Linked DNA regions of Homo sapiens: region 2 is linked to region 1. The links are contacts of gene promoters, found by promoter capture Hi-C in human tissues and cell types (Jung and others, 2019). All regions are on one chromosome and are shown on one strand. The core of a region is centred on a gene start or on the middle of the fragment in contact, and the rest is flanking DNA. Distances in the headings are between cores, read along the strand shown.

The links. Contacts are between HindIII fragments. The study calls those that stand out against the background at their distance.
Region 2: a contact is called between a fragment that was not itself captured here and the fragment with the promoter of ADGB in region 1, in 4 of the 25 tissues and cell types used here (bladder, heart right ventricle, spleen and 1 more).

The regions. Positions count from the first base shown.
Region 1 is chr6:146,595,049-146,600,303 of GRCh38, forward strand. It overlaps ADGB (androglobin), which reads left to right and starts at 3,924. Exons shown (of 36, transcript NM_024694.4): 1 at 3,924-4,066. The coding sequence starts at 3,993. It overlaps ADGB-DT (ADGB divergent transcript), which reads right to left and starts at 3,883. Exons shown (of 3, transcript NR_125860.1): 1 at 3,785-3,883; 2 at 3,022-3,123; 3 at 1-1,456. RefSeq lists a silencer at 3,725-4,019. The HindIII fragment of the contact is 7,954 bases long and covers 1-5,255 here.
Region 2 is chr6:146,394,811-146,400,113 of GRCh38, forward strand. GRM1 (glutamate metabotropic receptor 1) reads left to right here. Exons shown (of 8, transcript NM_001278064.2): 7 at 3,959-4,889. Among named protein-coding and RNA genes, the nearest start is that of RAB32, 150 kb to the right of the region's middle. The HindIII fragment of the contact is 4,712 bases long and covers 1,306-5,303 here.

The sequences.
Region 1 (5,255 bases), core at 2,674-5,173:
AGGATCCAACTTCTCCTTAACAGGTGTAGAGACTGAATATTACTGGACACAACTGAATGTCAGTTGTGATTTTTAATACCATTTCCAATGATCTGAAGTAAATATGTTTTGAACTCTGAAGTAGGCAGTGTGTATGTAGCAGAGAGTTTAGGAGCCTGCACTCTGAAACCAAAGTGTTCACCTATGCATTTTGACTCCATTCCCCCTGTGCTTTGGACTTTGGGCAAGTTGCTTTGCCTTTCTAAAGCTCATTTTCTTCGCTATAAAATGGGCAGAGTTTCATACTTCATAGGGTTGTGATCACTGAAGGTGTCAGAGGCAGAATAATGTGGTTATAAAGAGCATGGGTCTAGAGCCATGAGTTTGAATCATGCCTGATCACTTACTAACTTAATTTAGCCACTCTTTGCCTATGTTCCTATTTATAAAAGAGAGATTATAATAGCAAATCCCTAGGGTGTTTGTAAGGATTAAGTGAATTAATACAGAAAAATAGCTTAGAAGAGGGTCAAGCACATAGCAAGTGCTCAACAAATGTAAGCTCTTATTATTAAGGGTTTAGGAGCTTCAAAAGTGTGAATGAATTTGGTAGAAGAGGAGTTTTTGCTTTGAGTGACCCTACAGTCTAGTAAAGGAGAAAAAACAAGGCATAAGTATTAATAAAAACAAGACAGAATATTATAGGAATTTTAAAAGATGAACAAATAAAGTTCTGTGGGAAATAAAGGAGAAGGGTGTAAATTTCCATGGAAATGTGAAAAGAACAGAACTTGAAGTGACAGTTAAATTCAACCTTACACAGAACATGTAGAATGCATACTTTCTCATTTGGCTGGTTAAATTCCAAGTAATTTTATAATTGACCTAATTGCAAAGAGGTAGCTGAGCAGCAAAATATATACAATTCCCTATGGCTGTGGAATCAAGTGTCTGAAGATGGAGTTATGGATTTAAGAAACAGAAATGCTGCCACTCTGCCCACCCCTGCCATCTCCCACCCAGTTCCCTCCATCTAGGATTCCCATTGGTGGAGGGAGAAGTGGTTGCCAATTCTCACTTCCCTATTTAGGCAGATCCTCAAGCAGAGAGACTCCTGCCTGTTTTGTTTCTGCTGATATGGGGAAGTGGGTACCTCTAACCACTTCCCTAGGGAGCAGGCGCTACTGCTGCCTGAAGCCAAATATCTCTTCCCCGAAAAGGAAGTATAGATTAGAGAGAGGCCCTATTCTGGGTAGCTTGAATAAAATATAAGCCCTGTTTCTCAGTCTTTGACAGTTGTTAAATAGCAAGAGTTTGGAAATCCCTAAGCTCAGTCCCAGGGCAATCATCTGTATGGACAGTTAGTCCAGAGAATTGGAGAGAGCACAGGTTATGGAGTGGCCAATCTTCCTCTGCCACCTACCACCTGCTCCATGTCAGGCAAGTCCCATTTCCTGTCTGCATTTCAGTTCTTTACCTGTGGAATAATAACATTAGCTATAATTCTCTGAATGCTTGGGATGAGTCAAGCATATTTGAGGTATTATTCTTCCCTTTCCACAAATAAAGAAAATGGAAGTTAAATAACTCACCCATAATTACCCAACAAGAGTCAGGATTTAAATTCAAGTTTATCTCTAAAGGAGTTAGCACCCTTCCCTAAACCTTGCATGTAGTAGGTACTCAATAAATCACAGCTATTATTATTATTATTCCAAAGTGACATTGACAACAGTTATAAGAAAAATAAAAACAGCAGTAGGACCTATTGTCTTTTTTGCACTGCCACAATAAATATCATGTTAAGCTTTGTAGCTAGAACTATCTTAGAGAGGAACAGATTTGCTCTTATAATTACAGCCTGACCAGAACCTTAGCTCCAGAAAGAAGAGAAATTCCATTTATGCATGTTGCACTCTTAATATAATAAAGGAGAAAGAACACTGGCGTAGGAATTAATAGGCAACTTATACTCGTCACATCTTTTATGATTATCTTATTCCATTCTGGTGACAACCCCCTTACTTTATCCTAATTTAATAGATGTTTAAAAAGCAAGCTCTGAGTGGAGTAGTGATATGTTTGGCTTAAACTGGCAATGCTGACTTTAATGTGTTTAGTCCAAATTCCATCAATAAATAACCCAGCAACTTTTGGCAAGACATTTTGCTTGTCTTCGCCTGGAGTTATTTGTCCATAAAATACCGGTGGGATGTAGATCTTTTGATTTCTAAGGCTTATCTTCCCTAATTCTTTTGGCATCTTGCAGCCATTAACAATGGCTGCAGGATAGCCCTTGTTCAAGAAGAAACTCACCTCTCTGTGGGGTTGGCTGCTTAAAGTTGTGCTGTTTTCAGCCAAGAGTCTTTGTATATACTTATAGCTATAAATTTGATTACTCTGACAAAATTTGGTAGTAAATAATTTTTCTCACCATTTAGTCCTCTACTTTCATTCAAGAGAGTTCTCTGGAAATTTGAATTATGGTATAAACAAAGCAGAATCTTCATGATGTGTTCATTGTCTTTACATATATAGGAGATGTTTGCAGGGCAGTCTTGTAGTCATAATATTAACACTGCTGACTTGGAATTTATTTATTTTGCATATAGAAATACAACGAAGGGGCTGTCTGTCATCTAGGTAACCCCCAGTAGTAATCCAATAGTAATAAGATTGGGATAGTCTGACAAACCATAGGCTATGCTGAGTGGAGAGCCCTGAGCATTCATTTGTCAGAGAAGTTGAAAGATTTTCTCTGCAGGAAGCTGCCTCTTGCCTGCACAGGTGGAACTGTGAGCATGTGCCCAGTCCCATGAGTGGAGGGGATTTCTTTTATTTAAAGATACTTAACTATTTCTAGGCTCATGAAAGACACCAACCAGTAGTAGTGGTCCTAGGCCTAAGGGCTGTGTGTCAGATATCTCTGAAGTGAGGTTATATTGAACCAACACAATATTTTGTTTTGTTTTGATAAATTTGCAAGCTCTTGCAGTCTAAGCATGTCTCAGTTAAGCATAGTATCCACTACTCTGTATTTACCTGGCCAACTTCATTCATTCACGCTGTCTGCTGCTCCTCGAAACCAGGTGGTCTGTCATCTCTGAAAGAGTGGCTCCTATTTGCTGCGCTTTGCATCTTATCCTCAAAACAGAACTGTGAGTTAGGTATAACTCCTATTTATAAGTGAGTAATAGGCATCTCCTATTTATAAGTGAGTAAACTGAGACTCAAAGGGAAAAACTAGCCCAAGGCAAGATAACTAACAAATCACCACTGATGACTGAGCCTTAAGCCTGCGCCCTAATAAGTTTCATTTTACTTGGTTCTGTCTGTGTCATCTGGCCCCTGGACCTTTTCTGGAAAGTCTGCAAAGGACCACCTGAGCCCATGACTTGGACTCACTCTTTCATTCGAACAACAAGACACCTTATTGGTTTTATTACAGATATCATCACCTAGCCCTCAGCGACTCAAGGTGTCATTATTTTGCCTTCCTTACACCCACTGTGTTAATTTCTGGACCCCAGGTTTTCAAGCCATTGACAATTTCAGCGTGTCTGTAATGTCTCCTTAGTAATTATTGAAGGTACTTGTTATATTTAGCCAAGAGAATAACTGGGGTGGTACTAGGATAACATCTACGTTCAAATAGTTGGATATTCAAGAGTCGATATATGTCTATGGTTCCGAAGGGCAAAGCCAGGCAGTGTAGGTCCTGCAGAACTCCAATTAATCAGGGCTGCCCAGTAATCCTAATGCCAAACCCGTGCCCCAGAACCTCGATTTCTCCCCAGACACCAACTCCAAGTTCCTCCACGGGGATGTGGGATTTCAGTTTATGCTCTTGCGTCCCTCTGCAGCCACAGGCCGCAGAGCCCGCCCCCAGGGCCCCGCCCCCGCTCTCCGGGCGCTGGACGCGGGACGCCGTCTCCTGGCAACGCAGACGCGGAGCCGAGCGCGCCCGCAGGCTCTTTGCTCAGAGCTCAGCCCTACATAGATCGGCTTCTGCCATGGCCTCCAAACAAACCAAAAAGAAAGAGGTGCATCGTATCAACTCGGCGCACGGATCGGATAAATCGAAAGAGTAAGGGACCTCTGCCTGTCCGTCCCTCCCCTGGCCTAGCCCCTCGACCTCACCACTAGTTCTGGGGCTGCCTCCCTGCAGCAAACTGTGCCAGGGCAGAAGTTTAGTGGCCTCCTCGCAGCTTGTCTTCTCTGGTAAACCAGATCCTGGAGGTGCTCGCTCTCATCCTTCTCTCTTGCTTGTCTTGACTCACTTCCTTTCCCAGAGCCCCTGATTTTCTTGCTTTGGGTGTTCAGCTCCCATGGGTGAATCTGCCACCCCTCCTCTTCTTCATAGCCCTCTCAGGCAGTTAGAAAGGCCATAGCTTTCCTAAGAAAGAGGCATATCTCAAATACTTCTGGTTAAAGCCACATCTTCATGGCCCCGGAAATGATACAGACAGCGAGTGACAGACAGACATGGACACATTTCACCTTAATGGTGATTTTCTAGTTTGCATCTGCCCAGTCCAACGACTACGATCTTTAATCAGATATAGTCAGACGTAAAGTGGCTTCTAAACCTTAAAACATTATAAATGTATAGTTCATGTTACTAACATTTACTCTGAGAAAGTAAACAGACCCTCGCTCATGGAATTTTTATGGTGCCTTTGTCCTGGGCTGGTGTTAGGTGTTGTGTCTTAGGATGTACTTCCCCATGATTATTATTTTCTGTGGTCTGTTTCCCTAGGGATATCCAGTTATCCACAGCATAGGATTGGGGCTGTTTGAACTTACACCATTTCTAATGTTCATTCCCACTGTGAGAGAATCCCAGCTGCCCGCCCTGCTTCAGTGGGATCATTCATGTTCTTCATGCTCTGCCTGATGGGGAGGGCGATGCAATCAATCATTTCAAATTGAATTCTTACATCCTTGATGCCTGTTTCTCCATTTCCTTCCCTGGCTGAAGAATTCCACATTGGACTGATCCCTATGATTCACTGATCCCTAGGATTTAAACTCTTTTTCTTTGTGAATTCTTCTCCCAGACTCATTCCCATGTCTGTGAATCTCTAGTCCCTTAGTTCTAACCTCTCTCATAAGCAGGTTTCCAGTTACCCGGCAGATAATCCATTCCTTTTACTAGCTTAAATTTTAGATATTACATATATAAGTAATATTACATATATAATTTTATATAAATATTACATATGTAATTTTAATAGGATTGCTTTACTTCTGTGTACCAAAGTCAGGTCTTTTCA
Region 2 (5,303 bases), core at 2,412-4,911, 200 kb before region 1:
GTAATAAATCATAGAGAGGCACAACCATATACAATCCATCTGGAGATGCTCAAAGGTTTCTTTTGCAATTTTATCAATGTCCCATACATTTTTTTCCAAATTAATTTAATTACAAATGAAGCATGAGCTGGACACATCTTCTGCTATCCTGAAAATGTCTTTCCATTGCTGTTTAATTGGCCAACTTGTCCTTCCAGAATAAGTTGCCTCATTTTTCATGAGATGTACTGAGTGTTCACAAATATTCTTCAAATGAAACTTCTGCTTGAGATATCTACAGATTTTCTTCCATAGGCTCCCAAACCATAGAGAGCAGAGACCTTTTAGTTGGTTTACTGAAAGATCCATAATTATGTTGATTTGGGTTATTTACTTTTTAACTCTATCTGGAAATGTCAAGCCACATATTAGACATTTTCTAAATTGGTAATTTTAAATTATAACTGTTTTTTCCTCATTTGATTCAACTAATTCAGGAGGTCTAAGCCTACCTACAGAGGGAGAGAATATGGTCCTTTTTAAGTTAGTTGTTGAGTCTATTTCAGAACTATTTGAAAGTTTCCTAAAGTTTTTTCTTCATCTTTATTTAGTTTACAACTTTGAATATTTATTGAAAGAAAAGCTTCTGAAAGTGCTTTATGCAATGCCTTTTCTATTTTTCTTTTTTAAATGTTACACCACTGGGTTACTTTAATCTTCTCTTTTCTGCTCTTGCATTTAAACATTTTTCTCCATCAAAGGCTAATAATTAATTGAATTAATTGGTACATACTTGTAGTATGGACAATAAGTATCTAATAAAATTTCCAAATTCTATAGCAAACATTATGTTCTGTATTCATGAAGTTTAGGAAAATTATTAACTATAGGTCTTAATTTGGCTTTATACCAGTTTCTTTAATTCAACTTCTATAGATCTGACTTGTGTTCTAGAAAGTTTAAAATGTTATACTATTTTCTGGTAAAATCTCTGATGACAGAGTATTTCATTTAGAGAGTCAGGTAAAGTTGCATAGAAAAAGAATGAAATGAAAAGAAGGTAGCATTCAGAAGGTTACCAAAGCCTTGACAAAAATCATCTTTGAATTGGAAAATTTGTTTGCAGGATGACAGCTAAAGAAACTGACAATTCACTGTGGTATTTTATCTCCTAATTTGTCTAGAGCTCCTTGTAAATATTTTAATTTATTGATTTCATCATAAATTAGTTCCCATATGGCCAATGTTATTTTAAATATCTATTTTCCTACCTATCCATCATCTATCTATCTATCTATCTATCTATCTATCTATCGTCTATATATATATATTTATCATCTATGTATCATCTGTCTTGCCTGCATTGGGAAAACAAAAATAAAATTAGGATTAGTATGTGACTTTATATAGGAAGAATAAGTTCTTCCAGAAAAAGGTTTGTATTTAGACAGAGACAAATCTCTGATACACAAGGAAGAGAGGCCACTAAGTTCTGTCAAAAGTGTGTGCTTGCCAATGGTGTCTTAGATTCCCAAAGCAAACGGAGTGTAGGAAGGCAACACACAATCACTAAAATAAAGTGATCTTTCATAAGTTGACAACACGGGAAGTATTCTTGTAAAGGTTTTCTAAGAAACCTAAGGCTGAGTGACCTACCACTTTTGGCAAATTGGTTATCAATTTAAAGGAGCTCCAAACATTAGCACTCAGGGCCAGCTTGGATTGGACACTTCTTAGGCTTACATGTTCCTCTAATGTTTATGAACTATCCCTTATATTGTCAACAGAAAAAGGTGATTCAAAACAAAACAAACACACAAACAAAACAGAAAAATATGGTTCAAAACGAAACAAACACACAAACAAAAAAGACCCATAAAATAAGACTTTGTGTATGTATGTAAATAACAGCAAAAGCAAAGAAACAGCAAGGGAATAAACAGATATGGAAAAAAATATTTATCAAATTGTGTATCTCTAAAGTGAACTATTTATTGACATAATAAAAAGCTTATGTCTAATTACCAAATGGTGCATTTCAAAACCAAAGGTTATATGACTTAATATATAAAGATACAGGTGAAATAACCTTACACAAAGACCTAAGTTTAAGTGCCTTCTATATAAAGACCTACATGATTACAAATCCTAGGACAACTACATAAATTCAGCAACAAGAGCTCAGTAAAATTAGCCAGAGTGAGAAAATTATTGAGAATGACTCTCATGCTAGTACATGGGAAGGACAGAATGCGGGCACGAGGGGGTCCAGTGAGTGACCCTGTTGATCAGAGCATCTCCTGGAATGTTATCAAATAAGGAGTCTTCAAAATTATCTTGGTGAAGCCTCTAGAAATATGAAACATGGTGAGACTAAATACATAAAATTTTTTTTAAAAAGCACAAAAGCTGGCTGGGTGTGGTGGCTCATGCCTGTAGTCCCAGCACTTTGGGAGGCCGAGGCAGGCTGATCAGGAGATCGAGAACATCCTGGCTAACACAGTGAAACCCCGTCTCTAGTAAAAATACAAAAAATTAGCCGGGCATGGTGGCGGGTGCCTGTAGCCCCAGCTACTCGGGAGACTGAGGCAGGAGAATGGCGTGAATCCAGGAGGCGGAGCTTGCAGTGAGCTGAGATTGCGCCACTGCACTCCAGCCTGGGCAACAGAGTGAGACCCCGTCTCAAAAAAAAAAGAAAAAAAAAAAAAAAAAAAAAGCACAAAAGCTAAACAAATTGCTTACTATAGTAAGGGATAGTTATGCTAGGCAGATACATTTTCTCTGAGCAGAAGACTATTCATTTTATATGGAGTTTTTAGAAAGTGTGGAGTTTAGGGATTGAAAACCTTGCAGCTTCTGAGAGCTGGTTGACATCACCTGTAGCAATACGATTACTCACATGAGACTGTTGATTAGTTGGCACTCATTTATTGAAGTGATTCTGATCCTGCCTGAGTGATTATCAGAAGTAAGGGCTGACAGTGCTTGCTTGGCATCCAAACACATGTTCACTGAGGCAAGTTGTTGATTGACTGACAGGTTTAGCACTGGTTCTGGTGGTTCCTTGTTGCCATGGCTACAGAACAATGAGTCTTTTCCTAAATTTATGGAAATGACTTTATTCTCACAATTTGGGAAATATTGGCCCAGACCAAATATTTTGTGATTACAAAATTCTGTGAAGGGGTTGTCCCAGAGCCTGACAAATTTTTCTCTCACTCTGAAATACAAAATACATTTTATTCTCCATCTAGAAGGAAAAGATAAGCCAGGAATTTAGGAACAAATTCTAGTCTTTCCTTTCAAGAGATGGGTTAGGGGAGATTTCATTCTTCCTGGATATGTCCACTAGAGGTTACTAACTCAAAGGCCCTCAGGTTTCAGATACAGATCATTCATGATTCATGAGAAGAGTGAGATTTAAGGTATAATATAGAGTTATGCAGGAAACAGGAGAATGCAGATTCTTCTAAAGAAGTCCATGAAATTTACATTGAAAACACTCTGCTGGCCAAAAACGACTTGTCTATGAGCTGGACTTGCCTACAGACAATGGCTGCATCAAAAGAAAAGTTTTGTTAGTTTATTTCTTAATAATTTATTCTATCCCATTATCACCATTTAACCCTCACTGGAAATAAAGTTTTATTTGGGTGTTTTCTTTTTCTGAACATGTAGAACCGAGTCCCATTCACAGAATGACATCTATTTATAATGCTGATGTTGGAAGAAAAGATCATTTTTATAGGTTCAAGTATGTCACATTAGGCTTGTAATAAGATTAAGTTTGGGGACATAATTGTCCAGGTAAGACAATGATGTATCTTTATTTGTGTAATAGTGTGCATTTTTAAAAAAGCATTAAATGCTGTAAATCATGAAGGATGCAAAGATGACTGTGTCTCTGGTAATTAATAGGCAAGTTGTTATTCCTAGCAGAAACCTTGGATTCATGCTCAAATGATTTTTCTCATCACAGGCTGTGAGCCCATTCCTGTGCGCTATCTTGAGTGGAGCAACATCGAATCCATTATAGCCATCGCCTTTTCATGCCTGGGAATCCTTGTTACCTTGTTTGTCACCCTAATCTTTGTACTGTACCGGGACACACCAGTGGTCAAATCCTCCAGTCGGGAGCTCTGCTACATCATCCTAGCTGGCATCTTCCTTGGTTATGTGTGCCCATTCACTCTCATTGCCAAACCTACTACCACCTCCTGCTACCTCCAGCGCCTCTTGGTTGGCCTCTCCTCTGCGATGTGCTACTCTGCTTTAGTGACTAAAACCAATCGTATTGCACGCATCCTGGCTGGCAGCAAGAAGAAGATCTGCACCCGGAAGCCCAGGTTCATGAGTGCCTGGGCTCAGGTGATCATTGCCTCAATTCTGATTAGTGTGCAACTAACCCTGGTGGTAACCCTGATCATCATGGAACCCCCTATGCCCATTCTGTCCTACCCAAGTATCAAGGAAGTCTACCTTATCTGCAATACCAGCAACCTGGGTGTGGTGGCCCCTTTGGGCTACAATGGACTCCTCATCATGAGCTGTACCTACTATGCCTTCAAGACCCGCAACGTGCCCGCCAACTTCAACGAGGCCAAATATATCGCGTTCACCATGTACACCACCTGTATCATCTGGCTAGCTTTTGTGCCCATTTACTTTGGGAGCAACTACAAGATCATCACAACTTGCTTTGCAGTGAGTCTCAGTGTAACAGTGGCTCTGGGGTGCATGTTCACTCCCAAGATGTACATCATTATTGCCAAGCCTGAGAGGAATGTCCGCAGTGCCTTCACCACCTCTGATGTTGTCCGCATGCATGTTGGCGATGGCAAGCTGCCCTGCCGCTCCAACACTTTCCTCAACATCTTCCGAAGAAAGAAGGCAGGGGCAGGGAATGCCAAGTGAGTTATCTGACCTGTTTGTCTCTCTTTTCTCTTCCTTTCTCTGTCTCTTTCTCTCTCTCTCTCTCTCTCTCTTTCTCTGTCTCTCATATCTTCCTCTAGTTTTCTGAGTTGTCTCTTCCATTTCCCCCATGTCTTTCTCTTCCTTTCTTAATCTTTTCTCCCTTTCTTAAATCTCACATTCTGTTGCAGTAAGAATGCAGAACTGAGGCTCCTCCCTGTTTTCATTTCTTTGAAAGAAAAGGAGCAGGAAACAATCTTTATTCTTGCCTAGAAGCGGAAGCTTCGGTTCTGCCAGTAACTTACCCTTTCGCATGGGACCTCCTTCTATGGAGCATCATTTTGCCCCTGGGGGCTGGGTCAGAGAGGCAAGCACTAATTATAATGTCTAGTTCTGACCATGGTGAAAGTAGC